2 separate regions of the Homo sapiens genome follow, and region 2 is linked to region 1. The links are contacts of gene promoters, found by promoter capture Hi-C in human tissues and cell types (Jung and others, 2019). All regions are on one chromosome and are shown on one strand. Each heading gives the region's core, a stretch centred on a gene start or on the middle of the fragment in contact. The rest is flanking DNA. Distances are from core to core; before and after follow the strand shown.

Evidence for each region. Contacts are between HindIII fragments. The study calls those that stand out against the background at their distance.
Region 2: a contact is called between a fragment that was not itself captured here and the fragment with the promoter of SESN2 in region 1, in 1 of the 25 tissues and cell types used here (spleen).

Annotation. Positions count from the first base shown.
Region 1 is chr1:28,257,319-28,261,959 of GRCh38, reverse strand. SESN2 (sestrin 2) reads right to left here and starts at 2,442. Exons shown (of 10, transcript NM_031459.5): 1 at 2,023-2,442. The coding sequence starts at 2,112. RefSeq lists silencers at 1,532-1,591, 2,372-2,581 and enhancers at 1,851-2,699, 2,692-2,871. The HindIII fragment of the contact is 10,821 bases long and covers 1-4,641 here.
Region 2 is chr1:28,922,475-28,927,115 of GRCh38, reverse strand. All of the region lies in intron 1 of EPB41 (erythrocyte membrane protein band 4.1), which reads right to left. Among named protein-coding and RNA genes, the nearest start is that of EPB41, 10 kb to the right of the region's middle. The HindIII fragment of the contact is 3,394 bases long and covers 279-3,672 here.

The DNA.
Region 1 (4,641 bases), core at 1,193-3,692:
AAAATACAAAAATTAGCTGGGCATGGTGGCGGGTGCCTGTAATCCCAACTACTAGGGAGGCTGAGGCAGGAGAATTGCTTGAACCTGGGAGATGGAGGTTGCAGTGAGCTGAGATCGTGCCACTGCACTCCAGCCTGGGCAACAGAGCAAGACTCCATCTCAAAAAAAAAAAAAAAAAAAGATAAGAAAAAGAAACCTCCCAGATAGCAGCAGTTTTCTCCACTGAGGAAACATGGCTTCTGTGTAAAGATCCCTCCCTCAAAGCCTTTTCTCCCTAGACCAGGCACTGACCCAGAGAGGGGTGTACAGTGTCTGATCTCAGGAACAGGCTCAGGCACCCCCTTGTGAGACACTCTGGAGAAAGCTGTGCGTGCCATGGCCACGTTCTGATAATAGCAAGCAAGTATCACGCAGTTACTATGTTCCAGTCACAGTGCTTCAGCTTTTGCTTGTATTCTGAGTTAATTCTCCCAACAATCCCTTAGAGATACTGTAAAATCCCCATGGGAAGAAACCACAGATCAGAGAAGTGATTACTGGCTAAGCCACACACTGCAAGTTAGCAGGAGGGCTGGGACATGAACCCAGCACTCTTGCTCTCTAGTGTTCAGGTGTTCTCAATAGTAACATTATTTCCATCTTTCCAAAGAAGTCACACAGCTGAGAAGCTGCAGGAGAAGAGCCATTCCTCCACATGGCGCTCCTAAATCACGGCAGAGAAGGGTAAGCAAGCTAACAAAAACCAGGGCACAAACTATACACCGACGGAGGTAGGATCCCCAGAAACCACGTTACTAAGAGAAAAGCAGGGATTTTCCTGGGGTCATAGCACTCCACCAAATCCCAGGTCCAGAATACAACTTCCACCACACTCTAGGCCTGTAAACTAAAGCAACTAGAAGCTCCTAGTGCCGTGCAATCTCCGAAATCATAAGGCCAAAGAACAAGATATTCAGTGGGGTTAATGAAGAAAGCCTCTTTCTGAGCCCATCGTGGGCCTCAATGTTCTTCCTGTAAAATGGGGCTATAGCGTAGCTTGTATTGCTGGTTTAGTCCTGAGGACTTAGGTTAAAGGCGAAAAAAACTCAGAGCCTGGTATCTAGTAGGTGCATAATAAATGATAAGATGTCCATTATCGCTGCTGCTGGTAGTGGTGGGGGAGTGCGAACTGTCAGTCTGGTTAGGTCCAGCCTAATTCCCGGTCTCCCTGCAAAGCCCCTGCGGGCTATGCCGGGATGCGAATGCGGGGGGGTGGAGGGGAGCGGCGCGAAGGGAGGGTGGGGGAGGAATTTCTGGAAAACAAACTTCTGGGCCTTCAGACCACTTACTTAGCAGGGCGCAGCCTAACCCGCGCTTGGCTTCGGAAGCCGCGACCAGGGTTGTCCCCTCTCCCCCCAGCTTTGGCTGCCGCCGCCGCGTACCGGGCGGCCCGCCAAGCCCCCAGAGCCCCTGCGCTCTCCCTCCAAAGCAGGAGTGCGGTGGACATAGGATGAGGTCGACTTTCACTGGCCAGTCCCAGGTGCCTACGCCCCGCGCTGGGGGACAGGAGCCGGGAGGCACCCCAGGAAGGGTCCTCTGCCCGCCGGCCCCCGCGAAGAGGAAGGGACTCCGCGGAAGGGGGCGGGGAGGAGGAGTGGTCTGGCCGCTCCGGCCGGGATTTGCCTGGACTTGAAGACGCTCAGGAGCCCAAAGCTCGGAGAGCCTCCAGAAGGCTTCTCCCTCATTGGCCAGGAGTCCGAGGGAGCCGAGGAAGGATCCGCGGCCCTGGGGTGGGGCGGTGAGGGAGAGGGGGAGAGGGAGGGAGGAGGGGGAGAGGGAGGGGGAGAAGGAGGGAGAGGGGAGACAGAGTGGGGGAGGGGTGCCGAGGGCCGCGGCTGCCAGTTGATGCAACCCGGGTCCCGGGTTACGCGCTCGGCTTTCCCTCCCCGAGCCCAGGACACACCGACTCAGCTCCGGACAGCCTGAGGCTCAGACGCGGTTCGGGGTTCCAGGGAAGAGGGGCGTCGCGCGGCCGCCGCTTACCTCTCCGGGGCCCGAGTCGCCGACGCCGCCCGGGGCGAACCGCAGGTAGTCCTTGAGCTCTGCGCGGCACTCGGAGTCCGCCACGATCATGGTGCGCGCCAGGACCCGGTCGCGGCTCGCCGACGACCCGTGCACCCGAGTGGGTTTCGGAGGGACGCCCGAATGAAGCCGGGACTGGGCGCCGCCGGGGAGCTTCTAGAACCCCGGGGCGTCTCTCGGGGCTCCAGAACGCTCCGGAATCCGAGAACGGCCGCTTTGGTGCTGGACTCTTCCCCCAGTCGGGCTTCGGGAACGGCGAACGGCCTCGGGGGCCTGGGAAGGGCCGCAGCGCAGGGGTTTTCACGGCCTCGGAAGTCCGCAGGGGCCAGGGCTGCTCCCGGACCCAGCGCTCCTCAGCATCCCCGCCGCGGAACTGCCAGCGCTCGCCGGGCTCTGACACCAGCAGTTCAGCCCGCTGCGGTCCCCGGGGGAGGGCGGGGACACAAAAGCCCGGCGGTCCAGCCAATCAGAGGTCTGTTTCCCCGGGGAGGCGGGGGAAACTCCGCCCCCTGGAGTCACGGGCTCCGCCAATCAGCACCGGGGAGCGCCCGGAATTCTGGGAGTTGTAGTCCGCCTCGGGTGAATGCTGCAAACTTTTGCAAGACGGTTTAGTCAGATCCCTGGCAACACCAGACGGCAGTGACAGCCCTAAGAGTCATTAGGGTTGCGTGATGAAAAGGGACTTCACTGGGCTAGGCCAAACAGCCGAGTGTGAAATCTCCTAAATGAATTCTTCATCTTTTCAGTTCCTGGAGGGACTGGCTAGGGTTAAGAGAGGTTTGGCTCGCGTCCTATCCGGTGCTGCTAATTATAGAACTGAACCCCAGATATTTAGAGGTCAGAGGGCACAACCCTGCTCCCCCTGGCCTCGGGGAAGCTCCAAAGATGCGAGACACAGGGAATTCACCTTATTTGTGGAGCCTCAGGAAAAGCCTTCATTCCTTGAAATGTCATTGGTAACTTCGTGTGGAACCTCAATCCCTATTGCTGGAAGTTTTCTTCCTTCTGCTACCCGTCCTGGCTTCCACCCCTCCCACCCTCCTCGAAACTTTGTAACAAGGTGTTCTGCTGGATCTTTGCTCACCTCTCCCTCTGGCCTTCTCTGACTCCTCTTTCACCACCCACTTCCTAAAACGTGGGTGCTTCCCCAGTTTGTTTTTGCCCCTCTTCCCTCCAGACACTCTCCCTGATCTCATTCACTTCCTGGCCTTCAACTCGCCTCTTGCCAGAAAGTTGCCTCTACCAACACCTCAGCACCTCCAAGCTAAATTCATTTTCTATTCATTTCAAACGGAGCCTCTTCCTTCACAGTTTTCCTTCAGAGCTCCTTTTTTTGTTTCCATTTTAAAGTTATTGTTTATTCTAGACAGGGAATCCTGCCAGGGGTGAGGGTGGATAAGACCCCCAAGTCCCCCTCTGAGACTTCTAAGTCTAAGCTTACAATTCCAAAGATGAAACCGACTTGGTTTCCTGCCTCCAGATTCTTGGGAAAAAGAGATTAATCTCACCCTCCCCTGAGCTCCCAAGGCACTTGAGCTGGATCTCTTTTCACATGTATCACATTCTACCTAGTTTTTTTTGTTTTTTGTTTTTTTGTTTTCTGTTTTTTTGTTTTTGTTTTTTGTTTTTTAGTAAATAGAGACAGGGTCTCAATATGTTGCCCAGGCTGGTCTCAAACTCCTGAGCTCAAGCGATTCTCTCACCTCAGCCTCCCAAAGTGCTAGGATTATAGGCATGAGCCACCATGTCCAGCCACATTCTGCCTTGTATTGTAATTTTCTATGTACATGTTTTATCTGACCCTTTTTTCTTTTTATTAGTATTGTTTTTTAGAGATGGGGTCTAGCTCTGTCACCCAGACTGGAGTACAGTGGCATGATCATAGCACGCTGCAGCTTCAAATTCCTGGGCTCAAGCGATATTCCCTCCTCAGCCCCCCAAATCAATCACTGGGGTTACAGGTGTGCACCACTGAGTCTGGCTTATCTGATCTTTTTAATTGTAAACTCCTTGAGGGCAGGGTCAACATCTTTTTTTTTTTTTTTTTTTTTTTTTTAAACAGAGTCGCACTCTGTCTCCCAGGCTGGAGTGCAGTGGCCCGATCTTGGCTCACTGCAACCTCTGCCTCCCAGGTTCAAGCAATTCTCCTGCCTCAGCCTCCTGAGTAGCTGGGATTACAGGCAAGTGCCACCACACCCGGCTAATTTTTGTATTTTTAGTGGAGACAGGGTTTCACCATGTTGATCAGGCTGGTCTCGAACTCCTGACCTTGTGCTCTGCCCGCCTCAGCCTCCCAAAGTGCTGGCATTATAGGCATGAGCCACCGCGCCTGGCTGGCAGGGTCTACATCTTGACATCCATCTCCTGCTCTATGTCACCTAGCAAAATGTCCTGACAATCATATGCCCTTGGTCACGGAATCTTCCTTTGCATCAACTTCCTCTCTAAACTACCCTGTGTCAGCTTCAGCTTTCATTTAAAAAATTTACTATGTGGCCAGGCGTGGTGGCTCACGCCTGTAATCCCAGCACTTTGGGAGGCCGAGGTGGGCGGATCACGAGGTCAGATCAAGACCATCCT
Region 2 (4,641 bases), core at 726-3,225, 670 kb before region 1:
CCAACTCAAACCCCTTCCTGTTTTTCAACCTTGTATGTTTACTTTCACATCTGCTGCAAAAGATAAAAGCAACAATGGAGACATCAACCACATGACTGTGTTCTACCCAACCGGAAATAAAGCTCTGAAGCCAGACTTGCTGTGAAATGGGTCTTTAGAATACTCACACTCAGGCATAAAAATGTTACAGTATAAGTCTGGATCAAATCCAAAGATCAACACTAGACAAAACCAGGTGCAGCTATATTACACATGTTTATATATAATAAGCATTAGACAGACATCCAATTTAAGTAGAAAAATGCATAAGTCAAGAGGTAAAAATTATTCTCATTGCAAGATTATTCTCTCCCATCTCCATGAGGTCAGATTTTATCAAAGGGAAAAGGGAACTAACATTTATTGAGTACCTCTGACAGGCACACTACAAGGTTTGTTTTTATTAGTTATTCTATAGATTATCTGCAATGTGAGTATTATGCTCATTCTACAGAAGAAACTGAGGTGTGGAAAAGTACTTTCACAAGATCACAATTAGTAAGAAATCATTGGCTTTGACAGAAGATCCAAATCTCTCCTTCCCCACCCACTCATGGACATAAGTAAAGGTATAGTCGTAAAAAATACTGGCTTTGAAGCGAATTTTCGCTTGCTAGTTGTGTAACTTTGGACAAGTTACTTAACTTTTGGCCTGGTTAATACCTACTCCAAAGAGCTGTGGTGAAGATTAAATGCAAAAATAATAATGGGTAACATTTATCTGGTGCTGGGCACTGTTCTAATCCATTTAATCATCAAAATAACCTTAAAAGATATGTATTTGTATCATACCTACATTACAGAATGATTAGAAGTGAGGTGATATGGTTTGGCTCTGTAGCCCCACCCAGATCTCATCTTGAATTGTAATTTTTGTATTTTTTTTTTTTTTTAGTAGAGATGGGATTTCACCATGTTTGGCCAGGCTGGCCTCGAACTTCTGACTTCAGGTGATCCACCTGCCTCGGCCTCCCAAAGTGCTGGGATTACAGGTGTGAGCCACTGCATCTGGCCTATAATTTTTTTTTGAGACAAGGGTCTCTCTATGTTGCCCAGGCTAGTCTCAAACTCCTGGGCTCAAACAATCCTCCCACATCGGCCTCCCAAAATGCTGGGATTACAGGCATGAGCCCCATCTTTTATATTTTTGTGATCACATATATAAACAGAGTCCTGCTCACTTAACATGTACTAAATGAAGGATCGTGCCATTCCTCTGCTCAAAATCCTCCCAAGAACTCCCGTCTCCAAATAAAATGCGAAGTCATTAACACAGGCAATAAGGCACTACAATGATTTGCTCCTTCTCCTACCTATGACCTCTCTGAATTAAACTCCTGCTACTTTTCCCTAGATCATTTTGACCCAACATGCTGGATCAATGTTTCTCATACACACCAAACCCGCTTAACTTTTGTGCATTTTGTTCCTTCTGCCTGGGATGCTCTTCCCCAGATACCTGCACAGCTCACTGTCTTACTCCATTTAGGACTCTGCTCCAATGTCACCTTATCAGAAGTATCACCCTTATCTAAAATGTACACCCCACCTGCCTCACTGTCTCCCATTCTACTTTCCCTGATCCTCACTAAAATCTGATGTCTTATGTTCTATCCCTGATTTATACATTTATTATTTATCCCCTACCACTAAAATGTAAGCTCCAGGCTGGGTGTGGTGGCTCATGACTATAATCCCAACACTTTAGGAGGCCAAGGCAAGAGACTACTTGAGCCCAGGAGTTCAAGACCAAAATGGGCAACATATGGAGACCCCATCCCTACAAAAAATTTCATTTAAAAATTAGCCAGAATGGCCAGGCGCGGTGGCTCACGCCTGTAATCCCAGCATTTTGAGAGGCCGAGGTGGGCGGATCACAAGGTCAGGAGTTCGGGACCAGCCTGGCCAATATGGTGAAACCCTGCCTCTACTAAAAATAAAAAATTAGCCGGGCATGGTGGTGGGTGCTTGTAGTCCCAGCTACTCAGGAGGCTGAGGCGGGGGAAAAGCTTGAACCTGGGAGACGGAGGTTGCAGTGAGCCGAGATCGCGCTACTGCACTCCAGCCTGGGTGACAGAGCGAGACTCCATCTCAAAAAAAAAAAAAAAAAAAGTTAGCCAGGCATAGTGGTGTGTGCCTGTAGTCTCAGCTCCTCAGGAGGCTGAGGTGGGAGGACTGCTTGAGCCCAGGAGGTTGAGGCTGCAGTGAGCTGTGACCACACCACTGCACTCCAGCCTGGGTGACAGTGCAAGACCCTGTCCCAGAAAAAGAAATAAGCTGCACAAGAACAGATACCTCTATTTTATTCACTGCTATGTCCCAATGTACTTATGATAGTGCCTTGTAAATAGTGAACAATCAATAAGTATTTATTACATGAATAAGTGGTAGATGTTTTAGTTATCTATTACTTTACAATAAATTACCCTCCAAAACATGGTGGCTTAAAACAGCAAACATTTATTATTGCACAGTTTCTGTGGATGAAGAATCCAGGCATGACTTAGCTAGGTGACTCTGGCTTGGGGTCTTTTTTATTTTTTTTTTGAGATGTAGTCTCGCTCTGTCACCCAGAGCTGGAGTGCAGTGGCACGATCTCAGCTCACTACAACCGCCACCTCTCAGGATCAAGCGATTATCCTGCCTCAACCTCCCAAGTAGCTGGGACTACAGGTGCACACCACCACACCCAGGTAATTCTTCTATTTTTAGTAGAGACGGGGTTTCGCCATGTTGGCAAGGCAGGTCTCGAGTTCCTGACCTCAGGTGATCCACCCACCTTGGCCTCCCAAAGTGTTGGGATTACAGGCATGAGCCACGCACCCGGCCAGGGGCTTTCATGAAGTTGTAGTAAAGCTGTCTACTGCATTTGCATTCACCTCTAGGCTCAACTCTGCCTGGAGAATCTGCTTCCAAGATCACTCACACCGAAGATCTGCATCCAAGTTTACTGACAGACCTCGTTTTTAACCACATGGACATCACTACAGACTGCCTGAGTGTTCTCAGGATATGGTAGCTAGTGGTCCCAGGGAGAGGGAGAAAGCCAGAATCCCAAGAGAGAAGCCACAGTATTTTATAACCTAATCTTAGAAGTGACATCCCATCACTTTTGCTGTATTCTATTCAATAGCCCCCACTCAAGGGGAGGAAATTACACTAAGGGTATGCATACCAGGAGGGAGGGATAATTGGGGGCCATAATAAAGGCTGCCTACCACAGTACGCATGATAAAAATTTAAAAACATAAAACAAAAAAACTTGCCCTTTAGTTATATATTCTTTGGTATATTTATTTAAATATGATTCTATGATCATTATGCAATTATTCATCCCAATGCTAGTCTTTTCCATCTTACAAAATACCAAAGAGAATACATTAAATATTGAACATATCTTGTTAACCAGTGTCCATTAATGGTCATATTAGAGATAATACAACTAGCAAGGATAAGTCAACAAAAATAGCATCTGGAGAAAAAAAGACTTACTGGGTAAATCTTGCTAAGTAGATGACACTGACCTTTACTATTTAATCATTATAGGCATCATCTTTAGGAGACGGAATGGCACTTAATAAAAGATCAGCTTTTTATATTACAATTAAAGAAATAATAAAAATTCAAAGGTTACTTAGTAAGCTAGAGGATATATCAATCTACCGTTAAGAAATAAAAAGGTTGCCAAGCGCAGTGGCTCACACCTCTAATCCCAGCACTTTGGGAGGCCGAGGCGGGTAGATTACCTGAGGTCAGGAGTTCGAGACCAGCCTGACCAACATAGTGAAACCCTGTCTCTACTAAAATACAAAAATTAGCCAGGTGTGGTGGCACACGCCTGTAATCCCAGCTACTTGGGAGGCTGAGGCAGGAGAATCGCTTGAATCCGGGAGCTGAGATCCCATCACTGCACTCCAGCCTGGGTGACAGAGTGAGACTCCATCTCAAAAAAAAAAAAAAAAAAAGAAAAGAAAAGAAAGGAAAGAAGGAAGAAAAAGGTTTAAGGCTAATTACACATACCTGATTATCAGAATCAAACAGTGCATCACGGCTGAGTGTGTTGGCTCACACCTATAATCCCAACACTTTGGGAGGCCAAGTCAGGAGGATCTCTTGAGACCAGGCTGGGCAATATCATAAGATCATCTCAGCCTGGGCACAATGGCTCACACCTGTAATTCCAGCACTTTGGGAGGCCGAGGCAGGCGGATCATGAGGTCAGGAGTTTGAGACCAGCCTGGCCAATATGGTGAAACCCCGACTCTACTAAAAAATACAAAAATTAGCCGGGCATGGTAGCACACACCTATAGTCCCAGGTACTTGGGAGGCTGAGGCAGAAGAATTGCTTGAACCCGGGAGGCAGAGGTTGCAGTGAGCCGAGATCGCGCCACTGCACTACAGCCTGAGCAACAGAGTGAGACTCAATCTCGAAAAAAAAAAAAAAAAAATCCTGTCTCTAAGAAAAAATTTTAAAACTGGCGGGGCACGGTGGCATGCACCTGTAGTCCCAGCTACTCAGGAGGCTCAGGTGGGAGGACTGCTTGTGCCCGGGAGTTCAAGGTTAGAGTAAGCCATGATTGCCCCACTGCACTCCAGCCTG